Regions from separate parts of the Homo sapiens genome. Here all the other regions are linked to region 3. The links are contacts of gene promoters, found by promoter capture Hi-C in blood cells and fetal thymus (Javierre and others, 2016). All regions are on one chromosome and are shown on one strand. The core of a region is centred on a gene start or on the middle of the fragment in contact, and the rest is flanking DNA. Distances in the headings are between cores, read along the strand shown.

What was found. The method cuts DNA at HindIII sites, captures the fragments that hold promoters and counts their contacts. A CHiCAGO score of 5 or more calls a contact.
Region 1: the fragment with the promoter of GLRB here is called in contact with the fragment with the promoter of CTSO in region 3 in 1 of 17 cell types (erythroblasts); the score reaches 5.8 in erythroblasts.
Region 2: a fragment that was not itself captured here is called in contact with the fragment with the promoter of CTSO in region 3 in 1 of 17 cell types (monocytes); the score reaches 5.8 in monocytes.
Region 4: a fragment that was not itself captured here is called in contact with the fragment with the promoter of CTSO in region 3 in 1 of 17 cell types (naive CD8 T cells); the score reaches 7.0 in naive CD8 T cells.
Region 5: a contact is called between a fragment that was not itself captured here and the fragment with the promoter of CTSO in region 3, in 2 of 17 cell types (M0 macrophages and monocytes). The highest score is 8.9, in M0 macrophages.
Region 6: a contact is called between a fragment that was not itself captured here and the fragment with the promoter of CTSO in region 3, in 1 of 17 cell types (M1 macrophages). The highest score is 5.6, in M1 macrophages.
Region 7: a contact is called between a fragment that was not itself captured here and the fragment with the promoter of CTSO in region 3, in 1 of 17 cell types (monocytes). The highest score is 6.0, in monocytes.

What each region holds. Positions count from the first base shown.
Region 1 is chr4:157,074,871-157,077,570 of GRCh38, reverse strand. GLRB (glycine receptor beta) reads right to left here and starts at 1,421. Exons shown (of 10, transcript NM_000824.5): 1 at 1,274-1,421. The HindIII fragment of the contact is 1,648 bases long and covers 222-1,869 here.
Region 2 is chr4:156,963,340-156,966,039 of GRCh38, reverse strand. The region is part of intron 1 of PDGFC (platelet derived growth factor C); the gene reads left to right. Among named protein-coding and RNA genes, the nearest start is that of PDGFC, 7.1 kb to the left of the region's middle. The HindIII fragment of the contact is 3,699 bases long and covers 1-2,700 here.
Region 3 is chr4:155,952,564-155,955,263 of GRCh38, reverse strand. CTSO (cathepsin O) reads left to right here and starts at 1,398. Exons shown (of 8, transcript NM_001334.3): 1 at 1,398-1,551. The coding sequence starts at 1,417. RefSeq lists an enhancer at 1-287. The HindIII fragment of the contact is 8,738 bases long and covers 1-2,700 here.
Region 4 is chr4:154,561,359-154,564,058 of GRCh38, reverse strand. It overlaps FGB (fibrinogen beta chain), which reads right to left and starts at 1,048. Exons shown (of 8, transcript NM_005141.5): 1 at 927-1,048. The coding sequence starts at 1,040. The HindIII fragment of the contact is 194 bases long and covers 1,199-1,392 here.
Region 5 is chr4:157,049,609-157,052,308 of GRCh38, reverse strand. No RefSeq gene overlaps it. Among named protein-coding and RNA genes, the nearest start is that of GLRB, 25 kb to the left of the region's middle. The HindIII fragment of the contact is 2,241 bases long and covers 170-2,410 here.
Region 6 is chr4:157,218,918-157,221,617 of GRCh38, reverse strand. It overlaps GRIA2 (glutamate ionotropic receptor AMPA type subunit 2), which reads right to left and starts at 890. Exons shown (of 16, transcript NM_001083619.3): 1 at 488-890. The coding sequence starts at 575. The HindIII fragment of the contact is 2,337 bases long and covers 198-2,534 here.
Region 7 is chr4:156,999,845-157,002,544 of GRCh38, reverse strand. No RefSeq gene overlaps it. Among named protein-coding and RNA genes, the nearest start is that of PDGFC, 29 kb to the right of the region's middle. RefSeq lists an enhancer at 2,478-2,700. The HindIII fragment of the contact is 5,247 bases long and covers 1-2,700 here.

The DNA of each region.
Region 1 (2,700 bases), core at 172-2,671, 1.1 Mb before region 3:
TTTAAATTTTTATATTGTTTGAAGTTCTTATGTATATTTTTTCAAAAATAATGTATTTTAAAGAAAAAGAAATTCTAAGTATTAAAAAAGACAGATAAAAGAAAAAGTTAATATCAAAGAGTTCCACATTCAAAATTCATTGCTTTTTTTATTTAAACACATTACATTGGCAAGCTACCTTTTTGCCCCAAAAAGGTGCCTCTTAAGTTAGCTTTAAAGCTTTCTTACTTATTTGCTACTAACATTTGTCATCAAAAAGATTACTTCAGAAATTCTACAACAAGAAATAAAACAAGTGTTGTTACATTTTTTTCAAATTATCGTCCTAGCCATATTTTAATAACATTTTCATGCTCAAATCAGAACCATATTCTTGCCAGAGATTCTGATAAATAAAAAATAATTAAGCCTCTACCTACACTAGAGAAGTTCAAACTCTTCTGCAACCTTCATTTCCAAACCATAAATTGTTTCTCTTTCATTGTTTTCCGCAGAGTAAAAGACCTGTCATATTCTTCAACGCTAACTTAATTCCCATCTCACCCTCAGAAATTTGCTTCTCCTTATGTCATGTTTTTCATCTTCCCCCCCCCCCCCCAGGATTCTTCCCCCCATATTTATCTTTTACACACACTCCAGGCAAGCCAGAGGGGCTTCTCCCTGGGTACTTTAAATTGAAGACAACAGAGGGGGCTCATCAGACCAACAGCAACAACACAAGGTTCTCCTCTGGCAACTTCACAACATTGGACGCTCCCTTCCCCCATCCGACAGCGGCACCTGCTTCCAGACACCTTGCCCACAGCAGCAGGTACTTCTCCCACTTTCACATCCTTGCCCCCGCAAAAAGGAGGGCCGAGCCCCCCTAACGCTTCGAAAAACAGAGAAATTCACCACTCTGCTCTGTCCTCACCCCCAATCTTTCAAGGGGGACAGCTGCATTGACTGGAGGATCCTCATAAACAAAACAACGCAAGGAGCCCTCCTGGCCAACCTTGCGTTTCCTAATTACCCCGGCCCTCTGCATCTCTCCACCCGGAGCGTCTCCGCGGGCGCCACCGCAGCGGGGACCCGGCTGCCGCTGCCAGGCGCCCCGCGCCCCTCTCCCGCGCAGGGCAGCGCGCGTCCTCCCGGGCACGCCGCAGTGCTCCTCGCGCTCCGCCGCCCCGGGCTTGACCCGCTGTTTCCGCAAAGGCGTCTATTCCCGTCCTCAGACCACCGTCGCCGCCCCAACCCGCGTCCCCTCCTCCTAAGTGGAGCTCCTGGCACTTACCCGGAGGCGCCCCTGCCCACAATCGCCGGGCGAGATCGTGGAGGCTCCGGGCCCAGGTGGCAGTGGCTGCTAAGGGTGCAGCGGGCGCCGAGCGGGGGCAGCTGCGTCCCAGCCGCCCGCGCCACCGCCGAGCTCGGCTGACGCGCCTGCTCGGGCCGCGGAGCCTGCGCCGTGGCGCGCCGCGGTCGGGGCCGCAGCGGGGACAGCGCGGGCCGCGGGGGAACCTGGCGACCGCGGGCGGGGGAGGGAAGAGGTGTCCCGACAGAGCAACGTCACGGCATCGTCCCCTTCAGGCATTGGAGGGGTTACCGAGCAGAAATGTGTACCCCCCTCACTCCTTAGGGGACTAAAGGAGTTGGGGACGAAGGGCGGGAATGATAGTGTCGGTACAAAAAGAAAAAACCTTTCAAGGAGCTGGGATTGCTTGGGGTCAGCTTTTGACCACTAGCAACAAACAACAGAGCAACAAATGACCTTCTTGGGTCAAAGCGAACAAAACACATTTTCTGTCATTTCACCATTTGCCTGGAACCCAGACATCCAGCTTAATCTCCGGGTCTTCCAATTTCTAAAAGCCTGAACTTTCTGAGCAAGCTTAAATTGGTCAAAATTACTGACAATATAGTCATACAGGTAATACTATGTTTAACATCTGTTACATAATTAACATGTGTACAGAACTTGACAGTTGCAAAACACCTTTCACTCGCCTTATCTCATGTGGCCCTCACCACATTCCTGGGCAAGTTTTGTCATCCCCTTCTGTAGATGAAGAATCTGAAACTCAGTTATATTAAGAGATTTACTTAGAGTTACAGATCTTGAAAGAAATTTACCAGAGATTCAAAATTAGTGATTTTTGCATATCTGAACCAGACAGGGTCTCTGCCTTATAAGAGCAAAATACTGTTGTCCTCATCCTTGTGAAGAAGTAGCCCTTACTTGGATATGCAGCCCTTAGATAACAGATAAGGCTATCCTATTACCTCTTGAATGTATGCCTGATTGATTTTTTTTAATTGTTATTTTTTAAGCAACAGGAGCTCACTTTGTTGCCCAGGCTGGAGTGCAGAGGCACAGTCATCGCTCACCGCAGTCTTGAACTTCTGGGCAATCAAGAGATCCTCTTGTCTCGGTCTCCCTAGTAGAGTAGCTGGAACAACAGACAGGCCATTGCGCTCCACTAATTATTATTATTATTTTTTAAGAGACAGCATCTCTGGCTTTGTTGTCCAGGATGGTCTCCAACTCTGGCCTGAAGCCATCCGCCTGCCTTAGCCTCCCAAGCTGGGGGGCTTACAGGCTTGAGCCACCCCACCCCACTGCACCAGGTCCTGATGGATTTTTTTTATTAAAAAAGCATTGTCTCAAGTGAGCATCACTTAGCATTGTATTGTGGACCCACAGATGTATCCACTAATAAATTT
Region 2 (2,700 bases), core at 56-2,555, 1.0 Mb before region 3:
AGTTGGGAAGAGACTAGTGCAACTCCTCTAAGACAAATGGACCAACACGTGATGAAGCAGAAATTCCAATGCCTGGTACTGCTTAAGGCCTCTGAGATACTTCTGCAACCCTGCTGGCCTCTGTCCTGATCGATCAGTGTTCCTGCCGTACTGATTGTTAAGCATTTTGACACTTTTAGCTGTGGACAATTTTAGTTCATATTGGGGTTAAAATTTCTATCTTTTTTCCTCTCTGCTTGGCAGCTCAGGCCTGACCCATGACTTGAAGGACCTGGAGTAAGAAGGGGTATGGCTTCTTTCAAGCTCCCTTCCTGCAGCTCTTTTGGCTTTAGCTCCTCAAGGGTTATGGCTGGGGGAGTGATGAGATGGTGGACATGGCACACTCAGCATACAATTGCAACTTCCAGTCATTTGCCCCTGCCTCTCTGGCTAACACTAACCAGCTGCTCTTGCATGGATAACACCTTCCCTTCATCTAGATTAAATGATTCACTTCCTCAGAGAGGTCTTTTTTCTGACCACTAAGTCTAAATTAACCACCCCTCACTGTCTTGTCAAGGTTAATTAATTAATTATGTAGTACTTAATACTCCTTGATATTCTTGTTTATTAATTAATTAATTTATTATCTACCAACATCCCTCACCCCCACCATAAAATCTAAGTTGTTGAGAGCGTGGACCTTGTTTGAATCGCTTCCTGTAGGAACTCCAGCACCTGAGACAGGTATGGCAGAGTGTGCCCGATGAGTATCTGTTGAAAGGTTCTGGAGGTAGTTAGTATCTTATTAAAGAAAGACTATGCTGTTAACTCTAACAACAGGCCATCTTTTAAGATATCTTTTTGGTCTTGGAGCTTGCACACTACTTGACTTCTTAAATAGGAAGATAGCTTGTTCATGTATTGGTAGTGATGGTTGTGCCAATCAGAGTACCACGTTTTACTCTTGATAAAGATTATGTTACCAAGTGAGCAGGTACCAGGCAAATGGATAGGTTTCCTAGAACTGGTTACTCTTTTAAGTGTCATTGCTGTGCATAGCCTTACATTTTCTGAAGATGGGGACTGTCATGTGATGCAGACCAAGGACTCTTGAAAATGTTGCATAGATGACAAGCCTCCAAAATCTGTGTACTTTCTATATTTTACCTGTGGCTCAAGGATAACTTGCACAGGCTAGAACTCAGCAACATGTGTGGTATGAGGAATGTTAGAGTTGGAAAGACCCCAGGAACTTATCCTCACTGATGTGCAGATTGAGGCCTAGAGAGCAGAAGTTGACTTGACTTTGTCAAGGCCACTAGACAGCCACTATTAAACTGCTAATGTGGTGATACATTTTTCCTTATGTGAGAACCAATTAGGAAAATGGAATCCTGGTTTCAAAATTCACATACTTTTTATAAAAGCATTTCTTTATTATGTTAGTGGATTGCATGGTTTTCAGATTGGGAGATGAGGTAAGAATCTGTTGCTTCGGAAATATTTACGGGAACAGTAAGGGAAACAATCTCATAATAATCACATTAGTCAAATGGAATGGTATATATATATCACTATATATATACTGTATATATATGTACTATATATACAGTATATATAGTATCACTATATATATACTGTTATATATATATCACTATATATATATATAGTGATAACTTCTGTTTCTGTAGGCATCTGACAAATTGGCAAATAACTGGAAATACTACCTTTATAATGGTTACCATTATGTTAGAACTGTACTTTAAGCAAGTATATAGATGAAGGATGTTTATTTTAATATTTTGGCTTATTCAGTGATGGTGATGAATAATATGGCTGACATTGGCATGCTTGGTTCCACAAGGAAACTTTCTGGTAATAATTTTAACATTTCATTTAACAGTACATCTCAATGATAAAAGTACCATAAAAATGAATAAATAAGCATGTTTAGTGAACGCTAGAAAGTATAACCTATTATTTTTGAAATATATTCAGTGAGTGACCTTAACTTTTATTTACACTATATTCTATGGGATATTCTATTCAGAAGTTCAAGTTTTTTTTTTTTTTTTTGGTCAAGACCGTCAGAAAATAAATTCATAGCTATAAACTTGAATGGCTTGCCTAAAATATTATTAATTTACCTTTTTAAACTTTGGTTTGCAAAGTTCCCAAATCTGAAAACAAAGGGAGCTAAAAATTATAAAGGGGAACTATAATAACTACGTTTATAATTAAAGCCAAGTTGTTATAAGTGATACTTTTGGTAGCATTCGCTAATTTTGCCTTTTACCTCATGGGAATGCATTTTAAATTTAGTTTTGTTAATTTTATTTGTCATCAGATTTCTCGTTAGAATTCATGTGCCACCTTCAAGCCACTTTTTATCATCCCCTAGTGACTGAGTAGGCTCCTCCCTGGACGGTTATTTGCCCTGTTTCCACACCAGACTATCTTTGCCAGGCTGGCTTCACTAAATTTGCTCTCTTGCTATTCCACTTAATTCCTCTTTTATTTTCAGACTGTGATTTTTTTTTTGTACTTAGCTTTTTCCCTTTTGTATTTGTTTTGTTTTGTTTTATTTTTGAGACATGGTTTCACTGTCACCCAGGCTGGAGTGCAGTGGTATGATCACAGCTCACTGCAGCCTTAACTTCCCCAGGCTCAGGTGATGTTCCCTTTTCAGCCTTCCAAGTAGCTGGGATTACAGGTGTG
Region 3 (2,700 bases), core at 149-2,648:
AGGGGCTTTTTTACAATACCAATTATCCTAAAGTAAAGATGACTGCCTATATTTAAATTTCCTGACTCCGTAGGTTGTCAATAAACAGGGACTATGATCTGAAAGCAAAGTTCAGTTTAAAAAGAAAAGTATGTGCTTGTATGAGTCACAAAAAAGGGCTAAGTACAAAAGAACTGCTGAGGTAAACATGAACATCGTTCTGTGAACTTATGATTTAAATAAAATCTTTATCACCACACTTGCCAAGAGCAATATATCTTATCATGAACGTACATAAAAAACTCTTGTGTCTTTCCTCTTAATACTCGGAACATTATTTTTATTTTTATTACGAAGTTTGCATTGGAGAATATTGTAACTCACTGCACCTAGGTAAAAACTAAAGACATAAATCTGATGTTAGTTCTAAAAATCTACAAGGGTAATGATATGAATTTCACAGACATGGAAGCCTTGTTCAGAATAGATGATAATAGAAAGGCTCGGTAGAGCCAGGTTCATGAGTGTGTGACCTGTGCAGAAGTGGGTGCTTAGAAGGCCCATGGCTTGGGTTAATGCTCTGCTGTTGCCGTCTTGAAATTCTTCACAATTTATGAACAAGGGAACTTCATTTTCAGTTTACACGGAACCCTGCAAATTATGTACTTGGCTCTATCTTCCTTTGCAAACGGAGAAACAGGCTTCAAGAGTTTTGAAACTGCCATAATAGATCCAAAAACTGTGTATGCTTTTCACATCTGTACAATTTTGTTACGTATTTATAAACATCTGCTGAATGGATGACTCTATGTATTGGCCCACATCACTTCAGAACTAGGTCTTGAACTTAGGGATTGTGGCAAGAAGGAAAAAGGCAGCTTCCGGTGGCTCACAGGGCAGGCCAGGTGGCTCACACCTGTGAGCATTTTGGGAGGCCAAGGCGGGTGGATCACTAGAGTCCAGGAGTTCGAGACCGGCCTGGGCAATATGGCAAGATCCTATCTCTACTAAAAATACAAAAATAGCCTGGGGTGGTGGCACGCGCCTGTAGTCCCAGGTACTCCGGAGGCTGAGGCAGGAGGCACTTGAACCTGAAGGTCGAGGCTGCAGTGAGACCTGATCTCAACACACACAAAAGAATGACTCTCAGGCTTCTTTTTTTCTAATGGATGGAAGTGAAACCTCGAAAGCACATGGTCAAGTGCCTGACTCTTCCAAAACAAAAACAAAAACAAAAAAACTAGCCTCAGCAAGGAGGTCCGTAGCCTCCAGCTGACCGGATTTTCAGTCACAGAACACCGGGGACCTAAAAAAGGGTCAATCTCAGCATCGTGCACTCAACCCAGCTCCTTCCGCCCCTCGAGCCCAGGCTGGGAGGAGCCGAGGAACCGAAAGAGAAAACAGGCCGCGCGGGCGGCAGAGGAGCCGGGCGCCGCAATGGACGTGCGGGCGCTGCCGTGGCTGCCGTGGCTGCTGTGGCTGCTGTGCCGGGGCGGCGGCGATGCGGACTCCCGCGCCCCCTTCACCCCGACCTGGCCGCGGAGCCGCGAGCGTGAAGCCGCCGCCTTCCGGGTACCGAGCGCGCGCCTCCCCGGGATCTGTCCCTGCTCCCTCACTTCCTGTCCCGGGTCTGGGCTGCGGAAGAGGGCCCCCGAGAGCTGACCCTGCTCGTGGGCACCCGTGGCTCTGCGATGCGTCTGGGGCCCTGAGCTGCGGGTGCAAAAGCCAGCTTCTCTCTCCCCTCTCCTTGTGCCATGGTGTCACTCCCCCATGCCTTTGCTAACCAAAAGACTTGATTTTCCAGAAGAGATTTGTCGCTATGGATTTTTGGGACGCACCCAAATAAATCCATAGATACGTCCAAAGTGTCCTTGGTGGGAAGAAGCACCCCCTTTTAGCAATCCCCTCTATCGTTGCCACTGGCTTCCAAAGCTCTTCTATTTCTCTTTTATGAGAACCAGAAACAGGGAGCAGCCTGTTGGTGGAAGAAACCTGTCGTGTTTTTTTTTCCCGAGGAGGGCGCTAGTGATCAGAAGTTAGAAACAAAGAGCCTGTCTTTAGCCAGATTAAAGAATCCTGATGGTTTATGATTCTCCTTAAACTAACGCACCACTTTAAAAGTTCTTCCTGCCTTGGCGGAGACTGAGTTGAAGAAAAGAGAAGCATTTAATTTCCTTTTCATATTATTATACGAAATATAATATAATTTATATTTTATAATATTTATAATAAATACTTAGATTTGAGTCTAGCATGAAAACTCTGGAAGGGACCAGTTAGCTGAGCACAAATAATGATTTTCCTGAAACCAAGGAAACTGCAAGGGATGCCGATTTAGTGTTCGCCTCACTATGTTCTAGATAGCTGATACTATTTAACACATTTTTAAATTCATGAAAGATGCCATTATCATGATTTAATTTATTGGAAAAGAAAATTCTTTCATTCTGAATCAAACATAAGTCTGAGTTGAGTAATATTGCTCAAGGAAGTGTATCTTTTTTCCTGGTGTTTGTTGGAATTTCTCACAGGATTTCATAGCTGTGCTCTTTTCCCCCGACTCTCCTGGAAAGCTCCAATGTTTAGGAAGGCCAGCCTTCCCTGATTCTGTCCACTCTTACGTTTTGTCCAAACCGAGATGTGTACTGTTATCTCCACTTTATTATTCTTGAGTTCAGTTCTAGCTTTCAAAACCAGAAGTCCTCTTACTCTTTCAAGAAC
Region 4 (2,700 bases), core at 46-2,545, 1.4 Mb after region 3:
TAACCATATGTTTTTACACACACAACCAGATTAACTATATGTTCTTACATGTAGAGTCTGATAAGTACAACACTCAAGTTCCCTTGAAACTCAATAATGATCCGAAATGAATCACTTCATTTAAATATTATTGTGTATTCTTATTTCTAGTTTAATGATACTATGCTATATGTAAGAAATTTGGCCATGATACGTTTGATGATAAAATTTAAATTTCTTAAATATCCATTGTCCTAAATGCATTTCTGTATTTTTAGTAACTGCAAATTAACAGCAATAAGTCAGCAAAAATAATAGTTGAGGACAAACTGTTCTACAAATAAATAAATTAGACTGAACCGTGTTTCATAACTATTAATAATAACAATACACACTAACTCTAATTTGAACTTTTCATCTGAAAAAAGCAATATTTCATTTTCTATCATTACACTTGATGTATTTTGCTTTTAGGCTTAGTTATAATTTTTATAAATAGTAATCTCAGTAACAATATATATTACCTTCCTTCACCAAAGAACAATCTACCTACCACCAGTTTCTTTTATCTTAAAATTCTGCTCTTTTATTATTTTATAGTTTGTGAGATTTTCAGATCTTGTCCTCTTAATTGTAATCCTGTATTGCTAGAAGTAAATGAAAATCACAGTACTCAGAATAGCAAGTGAGAAAAACACATCTTACATTAGCTAAGCCATCCTCATCTTAAGAAAACAAAGGTGATAAACTAGAAAACAAGAAATTACTTTGTTTTTATATAAGAAATACTATGAAACATTCTTTAAATACAATAAGTCAGAGGTTAACAATTCCATTTCATAACTATAAGCAATGCTAATTTCATTAAAATAAGCACATAATATGATTATGTTACATCTTATATTAATAATACTACTAATAATATAATAATGCTTTAAAAAATTCACCTCCTCATTGTCGTTGACACCTTGGGACTTAACTAGAAAAACACACAATAGTAGCAATAATAGATGTTTCATGGTTTTAAGTTTGTGGAAGCTCCAAGAAACCATCCTTTTCATGTAGACTTAACTGAGAGATCTTCAATCCTATATATATCTGAGTCCTCTGCTAGGAATGACTTCAGAAATGGTTACCTTTCCTTAGTTAATATTTAATTTTTGGTTCACTTGTTGGCTGAACCATTTTATCATTTAAGCAACATCTTCCCAGCAAAGCTTATTTACTTGTCATACAACTATTATTCTTTGTTGGTCTAGTTTAGAAACATTAAATTTCTTCAATTCATTTAATTGGACAAAATGATGGGAAGTTAGGGCACTCCTCAAAGAGAGATGTGTATCTTGTTTCTGGTAAATTAATGTGGAAACTACACAAGCTCCGAAAGAATATGTGAGAAAACAAATCTAAGCTTAGTAAATTTGACCTACTCACAAGGCAACCACTAAAATCGTGACTCATTAATGATATACCATAAATGCTTATGTTTTCTGACAATGACATAATTCTATTTCAAAAGGGGCCATTAAAATCAATAGTAATGTTATATCATAATGTGTTTATCTTTTGTTTTAGACATTAATCAAAATAACAAAATAACAAATTCATACCCTATTCTATGAAAAATACACATCAGAAAGACCCTTTTTTTGTGCTGAATAGCTTTAATATTTTGTCCTTAATTCACATAAGGTAAAATGTTCAACAAATTCTAAACATTATTAAGATAACTAATAAATTATAGATTTCTGAATCAAAATTATGATGATGATTAAATACATGTTTAACATTCTATTTTATTGTTATATAGTTTATATCATATGATTTATAAAAACAATGTTATTTTAACACTGGTGAAGTCTTCATACATCTATTTCAATTAGTATGCTCACAGACTAAATGAGGCCCATTTTCCTTCATTTCCCACAAGCCACAAAATTTATCTCTCTTGTCTGTTCACTTGTGTGTTGCAATCAGGATTAATAACTCCTACAAGAATCAATAGGAACACCAGTCAGTAATCCAAATCCCAGTAAGTGCATTGATTCAAAGCATTTTTCTGTTTTTTGTATGGAAAGTGAAACATTCTCATTAAATTTATAAATTATTTTATTAAAAAGATGGCAGGTTATCAGGGTTTGGATCAGCGTATTGAAACAATGCTTTGAAACAGAGTCTTGAGAATGGTGTGGGACCCACGACATTTCTTTCTTCTCCAGGTAGCAGAGATTGCATTCCCAAATTCTTTTAACTCAGATTCCTAGAAACAAATTATTCTCTTGGTAGCATAGGTTGTCCTCCCAAATTCTTTTAACTTAGCTTAATAGAGACAAAGTACTCAGTTTAAATTAAGAAAAAATATTCACTTGAGTCTTTCCAAATTTGTGTTCCCTTTATTAGCAATGAGTAAATATTATATTTTAAGATTTTTTTCTTTAGCTTTAATGGTTTTTAAAGGGATACATGATCTGACAGAAAAAGCAAATATCTATGTGGCTATTAATTAAAATATATACAGGAATATTTTCCATGAAAATATAACTGATAACAAAGTTTATTTTAATAATCTAGACAGGATTTTATTTTAGTGACGTACAGATTCTTACAGATTTAAAAAGAATTATCTGTTAAGAAAACTCTAACCTTTTTTTTTTCTTTTGAGGTAACGTATTACTACATTTTCAATGACTGATGTTTGATCAACTAACAATAGAATCATCA
Region 5 (2,700 bases), core at 41-2,540, 1.1 Mb before region 3:
ATCCTATGGTTTAAAATGTTCCCTGTGGCTCTGCTCCTCTGATTAAACTCCAATACAGAAGATTAGTATGTTCTGTGGATGAGAAGAGTAAGGGCATCTTTGGTGACCAGAGGGCAGACTGTCAGATTCCAGAAACACACCCACCAGAGCACATAGGGAGGGAGAAGCTTTTGTCAAAGAACACGGTGTAACAAAAAGGAGGACAGCATGGCTATAAATGGCAGGTTGAATGGAGAGATGAAAATGCTACCTTATCCTTTAGATAGGAGGCATGATTATCTGGTAAGGTAGGAGGCCGGGAGAAGGAAAGTGGGGCTTTTCAGAATAGAGGAGGTATATGAAATAGCTGCTGCACACTGGTTACTTGACTAGAGTATCTACAGAATAATAATACCAAAAGTTTATTGAAGGGATATTGCAGCCATTGTATAGGCATTTTCTATACAAGAACACATTCAATCCTCACTAAACCCTTACAGGTGTGCCATTGTTATTTTATTTTTATAGATGAAAAAACTGAGGCACAGAGAAAATAAGTACCTAGCCCAATGTAATATTTTCAAAAAACTAGCCAATATTCCAAAAAATATCTTATGCTAGAAAACTATAATTCTTGGCACATAAATTTCCAATGGACTATTAGATATTTTCATTCCCATTTTACAGGTAGGCATAATGAGGCCCAAGGAAGTTTACTACTGTGCCCAGGTTATATACCAAAAATGCTAAATTAAGATTTGTTATGAGTGATAATAACACTGGCAACCAGAACCCTAAGGATTTATAGTTTTAGACTATTCATAATATATATAATGAATATTTTATTTATGTATATGTACAAATACATACATACACATTTATATAACACCTATGTATTACATTACATTAATACATTAATATGTGTTACAGATAAAAATCAGAGGCTAAGAGTATATAAAGTGACATCTTAAGTAAACTTGGAAATTGAGGGATATGATTGTTAATTTTATGTGTCAACTTAGGGGCTAAGAGAAACGTGTCTTTTTCTTTTTTTTTTTTTTTTTTTTTTTTTTTTGAGATGGAGTCTCACTCTGTCTCCCAGGCTGGAGTGCAATGGTGCGATCTTGGCTTACTGCAACCTCTGCCTCCCAGGTTCAAGCGATTCTCCTGCTTCAGCCTCCTGAGTAGCTGGGACTACAGGCCCGTGCCACAATGCCCGGCTAATTTTTTGTATTTTTAGTAGAGACTGGGTTTCACCGTGTTAGCCAGGATGGTCTCGATTTCCTGACCTCATGATCCGCCCGCTTCGGTCTCCCAAAGTGCCAGGATTACAGGCATGAGCCACCGCTCCCATCTGGGAAATGTGTCTTTTTTTGTCGAGATTAATCACTAACCTGTGTAGTGTGAAATGGGCCCTGTGTAGTTAACTTTCCACCCAGTGACTTGTAGATGTCTTCAGTGAAAGATAACATAGGGGGATGAGTGTTAGTGATATGGTTGAATGTGTGTCCCGCCCAAATCTCATATTGAATTGTAATCCCCAGCTTTGGAGGTGATGCCTGGTGGGAGGTAATTAGATCATGGGGGCAGGTTTTCATGAATGGTTTAGCACTATCCCCTCGGTACTGTTCTTGTGACAGTGAGTGAGTGAGTTATCATGAGACTCCTGTTGCTTGGAAATTGTGTGGCACCTCCCCGCTCTATCTCTTAGTCCTGCTCCTGCCATGTAAGATGCCTGCTCCTGCTTTGCCTTCTGCCATGAGTAAAAGCTCCCTGAGGCCTCCCCAAAGGAAATGCTGCCATGCATCCTGCACAGCCTGTGGAATTATGAGCCAATTAAACCTCTTTTCTCTATAAATTACCCAGTCTCAGGTATTTCTTCAGAGCAGTGTGAGAAGGAACTAATACAGCTGGTTTCTGCTCTGGCAGACTAAAAATTTGGTAGTAAGAGTAGATGGTTTGGCCTTGGTAAGTGGCAGCCCATGCTCTGGGGCTCATGCATTTTCCCTATCTCTTGTACCATGACTATTCCATCATATATCCATATGTCAGCATTGGATTGGTGGGTACAGCAGCTGGCCGACATCAACTGGCTGAGTGACTTTGTCTAGCTTGATAAGTGACTCTTTCTTTCTAGATGTTCTTTGGTGATCATTAACATGTAATACAGAGATTTTCACATGTTGTAACCACTCTCACATGTCCATCCAAATGCTCCTGCTCAAGAATTCCGTATCTCAAATCTTTCAATCTTACCACTCCCAGCTCCCAGCAGGGAGACAAGCCATTTGCCACTGACCATGAATCCATATATTTCTAATTTAGAGCCATTTATCTTTTTACACAAAGTTAATTACCAGGTACTTGCCAAAAACTCTTTCCACTGAAAAATTTTCCCACATACCAGGCTGTCCCACACTGGAATCAAGCTTGCCTTTTTCTCCTCCCATTTGGCCATAAGTATGAGCTGAGAGAGACACACTGTGCAGCAGTGGTAGATGGCATGGGGATCTGAGCTGCATCGTTGGGCAACTAGCTTGTGCCTTTCATTCCTGCTCATGCTTACTCCCCAGATGCACCACTCCCATCTCACAGTGGATTGTTTCTAAGGTCATTTGACATCCTTACATGGCAGAACTGATAGAACTCAGCTTATGAAGGGCAGTTCTGGCCCCGTGGTCACTCGATTTTTACGAGACCACAGTAATACACCAAAGGCTA
Region 6 (2,700 bases), core at 117-2,616, 1.3 Mb before region 3:
GGAAAGGAGGGGCGCGCGCTAGCGCCCAAAAATCCAAGAGTCTCTTATTCACGCGAATAGGCCGAATAAACACACCTACGGACTCGGACAGCGGGGGTGGAATATCCAAAAGCTAGCCAAGGGGTCAAGACCCAGATGAGAGTCTGAAGGCGAGGTAGGCGGCCAGAAACCTTCACCTTTCCATGTAATCACAAGCTTTGCATTCAGACCCCAAGAAAATCTGAGCAAACTGGAAAATGTCGCTAAGGCAGAATTAATAAAATTTGGGGATCCGAAATGAGAGGACCTTTTCTTCTATTGTATCAAAGGCATAGTCTTTTCCTTTTGCTTCATCCTAAGAAAAACATGTATATTCTAGGTAGTTTAAATCTGGAATGCAGTCAAGGTATGACATAAGTCTACATGACATGAATTAATTTGTACACTGTGAACAAAGATTACCACCAAATTATGCACAATTCAAAAGCATAGCACAAAGGGTACCTACCTATCTGTATGCTGTTAGAAGAGACACCAAAAATCAGTCCCCATAAAACAGGAGAAAGGAGGACAGAAATATGCATAATCTTTTGCATTTCCAAGAAAAGTAGAGCATCCACAATATACCCCTTTTTTTTTCCTTTTCCTCCTCTTCCTTCTTTGGCTGTTTTCCTCTGCAAATTAGATCCTCTGCATTTTGAGACAGCAATTTAGCACCAAGCTGCTAAAACCTGAAGTGGAGGCAGAAGAATCCCTATTTCCCAGGTCCTGCTGGTGGCTGCTGATGCCCTGCGCCCTGTCCCCGCTCCAGAAGTCCGGAGGACTGGCTGAATGCAGTTTTCAGCGGAGCTGCCGCTGTGGTCCCAGTGTCTCGGAATATTCAGCACCCTCCCATGCACTCACACACACTCACCCTCTCTCGCGCTCTCTTCTCCCTCTCTCCTCTCTCACTCACGCGCGCGCGCACACACACACACACACACACATACACACACGCACACACACAGGCAAGTCACAGAGAGGGGCAGGCAGTCCCGGGCGCGCGTGCGCGACTCGCGGCAGGAGGCGGGAGCGCGCGCCCCCTCCCCCGCACGGCGCCCGGCACCCCGCACCACCGTGGACGCGTCGCGTGCGCGGCGCTGAGAAAGCACAGCTCGGGGCCCGTAGCCGCTGTCCCTCCGCGAGACCTCGGGTCTCCGGGGCTGTCGCGCCCACCGCGCGCCTCGGCCTTTCAGCACCGAGGACAGCGCCTCGCTCCCCGCCCGGAGCTACCTTCGTGCGGCTGTTGCAGCTGCTGCGGAGATGCTCCAACCTGGACCAAATGCAGCAAAGCTGATCTCCGGCTGCTGTGTAGAAGCCGAATTGCTAATTGTTGGCGGCGAAGCGTCCTCTCACCAGGCCCTGCTGTCTTACGTTACAAATAATTTTGATTTTTATCTTCCATCTCCTGTGAAAACCCATTTAGCAATACAGAAGCCCTGTCATCCTCCTCACCTGACCCAGCCGAAAGCAAACAAGCAAGCAAAGCACCGTGGAGGAAATATTCCAAAATTGTGCACTTGGGCTTCATGGGATGTAGCCAGGATCCAGGGAGAACCCCAAGTTATATCTTTAAATGCTTAAGCCGCACAAGAGATCAAGATGGAATCTTTTAAATATTTTGCATGAAAATCCCATCTTTAGAGTATATTCCATTGGGCTGTGATGCTGACTCGCCTAGTTACAGAGCGCACGGGTCTTTCTCGCAGCTTTCACTGCAATCCCTCCCTTGTAGAGTCATGTAGACTTGGTTTCCTAGAAGCCCTTGCTTTATGCAGATTGAAAGCAAGAGACTCTGGTTTAAGGAAAGGCTATTAGAGGAAAGTGATTAGAAGATGAAGCTAGTGTAGGAATGCCACAGAGATGCAGATTCTTTCCCAGAGACTTACTTAGAAATCTGTTTCCCCATCGCGTTTTGGCCGGGGGTTTCGAAAAATCACTGCCTAAAGAAAGTAAGCCACCACGCTCTACTGAACACGCGGGCCACAGGGAAAGAAAGATGAGGTTAGATATTAAAAGTTTGAAGGGAGAGAATTGATGGCGAGATGGATGACTGGACTTCCCGTGTGAAATTTATGTTCTTCATGGTGCTTTTTCCAAGCTCATTCCTGGAAACCTGCTCTGACAATTCCCTCTGCGGACTCAGAAAAGCCCCACCAAGTTGCATGTCTTTACTGGTTTAAACAAATAAAGAAAGATTGAGAACAAGGAACTGTTTCCAGGAAGAGGGAGATTGGAGCTTACAGTACTAAAAAGAGAACTGCTAGTATTCCAAAATGCCATGAGTCTATCAGGCTGCCTTCTTGTGCTTGCAGCTTCATTGCTGACTGGATTATCTTATGCTTGCTTCTTAATCACATTGGCCTCAATTTCCCCATTTTAAAAATGATGATGAGCAAAGTGGCTTCTATGGCTCTTGGATCCTATATTGCTGTCATTTCAAATTATAACCTTTCCCTCTTTTTGATGTAGTCCTAAACCATGAAGTGAGAATAGCTGTAATCTATTATTAAGCTTATAAACTATAGACTAAAATATCTCTTAATTTTATGCCTTAGAATTTTATTAGTATGTTATAAGTACTCCACACTGTATATAAAGCAGGTCTTCTAAATAAAAATGTATTTAACCTTTAAAAAATTGAATAATAAAAATAATATATAAAATTAATTAAAATTACAA
Region 7 (2,700 bases), core at 185-2,684, 1.0 Mb before region 3:
AGAAGGTGATATTATTTGGAGACAGTTTTTGCAGATAGTGAAGAATCAAGAGGAACTCAAACTGGATTAGGGTGAGTCTTAAAAATCCGATGACTGGTGTCCTTATAAGAAGTGGATGCGCAGAGATACAGAAGAGAAACACAAAGAAGAAGGCCATGTGAAGATAGAGACAGAGATTGATGATGCTGCTACAAACCAAGGGAGCCAAAGATTGCAGGAGTCACCAACAGCTAGGAAGAGGCTAGTAAAGGTTCTTCCCTAGAGCTTTCAGAGGAAGCATGTCCCTGCTGACACCAGGACTTGGGATTTCTAGACTTCAGACCAGTTAGAGAATAAATTTATGTTGTTTTAGGCTACCAGTTATGGTAATTGGTTATAGCAGCCCTAGGAAGCTAATAGAGATTTTTACCTACATTGGAAAAGTTGGAATCATCTTTCATTATTTTCTCTCCCTTCTCTACTCCTATCCCTTCTTGCTCCATAGCCAAAAGAAAAAAAAATTGCTGTCAAGTCACATAAATTTTACTTTCTAGTGGTCTTCTTATCTAAGTCTCTGTGCTTTCCAATCTAACCTTCATAGCTATGTTAGATTAAATCACAGAATTGTTCTTATTATGTAAATAACATTTTTTAAAAATTCTAATAGTTATGTTTTAAGAATTAAATACAAATTAATTAACTTGACAATTAAGACCCTTGAATGACTGAGCAATATTTCCAGTTATTCTAATCTAGAATCCATACTTTTTGTTTCCTTCTCCTTGAGTACTCTGTATCTTGTTATAATTTGTGAAAATCCAATTTTCTCATTGAGTCGTTTCTGATTATTCTAACCTAACATATTAACTCATTTTTAAAAATCCAATAGCTTTTTTGCCTTTAAATGAGGTATGCTTTGTCTTTAATATATTTGTATGTATCTTCCCCTTGTTCTGTTCAACTAAAATATAATTTATCTACAAAAATCTGTATTTTTTACTTATTTTGTATGTTATGCATATAGCAGACTTATGAATTAAGTTGGTATTTTTTCAGTGAACTTGAATTTGTTAACTAATTTGAAACTGGTAAATCCAGAGACCATGAAATATTGAAAACTTGAAAGAGAAGATACAATTAGCAAACTATTGATCATTTAAGATATGCCACAGAAGGGCAAACTTTCAACACCTCCTCTTTTTTACATAAGACTAACCTCAGTGTTTATTGGCATATTATATTAAACCTTATAATACAAAGAAACTTTTTAAAGCTGTATGGCAATTTTACAACTATCAAGTATTGGGTTATATATTTATCATTATCCTGTGAATTTTAAAGACTAGTATCTAGAGCAAGGAAATGTAGGAAAGATACCTGTGCTTCAGTGGAGAACTTTGCATTATCTAGACTCCAGCCACTCTTCTGGTTATCTGACTCCTCCCACCACAATGAAAAACAAAAACAAGACAGCAGTTTTGTCTATAACTGTGCCTTCTTTTCAATATTTCTGTTCTATAAATCTATCTCTTCTTTAGATTTTTTTTGAAACAGTAAAAATGCCTGCCTGATGTCCTTATTGATTATATGAAATCTTTAACATGTATTCATTTTTATATCTACAGGAGTCATGATTTTACTCTTGTTTTGAAGTTAACTTTTAACAGAAGTGGTTTTCTGTTTCATTCTTTCTGGCATTATTAGAAATCCTGTCTACCATGATAGCATTGGGAGATATACCTAATGCTAGATGACGAGTTGGTGGGTGCAGCGCACCAGCATGGCACATGTATACATATGTAACTAACCTGCACAATGTGCACATGTACCCTAAAACTTTAATAAAAAAAAAGAAAAAAAAAGAAAATAACATTCTTAGATATTAAAAAAAAAAAAAAAGAAATCCTGTCTACCATACATACCATAAGTAGAATGTTGGAAAAACTGGAAAATAATAACAGAAGGGTCACCAAAATAGTAAGAAAACTTCAAAACCTGTCATACATTGAAAAATTGAAAAAATTTGAGGGAAATTTAGTTTAAAGAAGAATAGTCTAAATGGGAAATGACCATTGTTCTCAAAAAACCTATAGGGCTACCATATGGATAAGTGAGTTTTCCGATTCAATCTTTTATCTGACTTTCAAGAAACTCCGATACTAGACTCTGACACTTCCATGGAAGAGGCAATCACCAGTGACTTCACTCACCCCTAAACCCTAAGGAACACAAACTCCCAAGTACTTGGTCCTTGTGTTCAGAGAGAAGGTCTGAGTTTTCGCAGCTTAGCAAACTCAGGAAAAGTGAGCTTTATGACTGCAATTTTTGCTCTGATTTCCAAGTAACTCCAGTCCTAGACACTGACTCTTCCAGAAAGTCAAACCAAGCTCAGGTCAAGTTTTATGAGTTTTTAGATGATAAATTTGAAAAATTGTGTGAAATTCACATATAGGTAAATTTTGACTCGATGTAAATTCAAACTTTTCAACACTTAGAACTATACAGAAATGGTTTGGTCAGCTTTGTGATATAAGGATTTATTTGTCTCTAAGGGGTATTCAAGCCAAGTTGGAAAAAATCTTATTAAAGCTCTTTTACTATTGATTAAATTATTGCCTGTAGAATTGGACCAGATGCCCTATGGAGAATTTTAACCCAGAGTTACTAATTTCATGATTAAAGTACACCTTGGTTTTTGTATGTGCATTTAAGCTCTGGGAT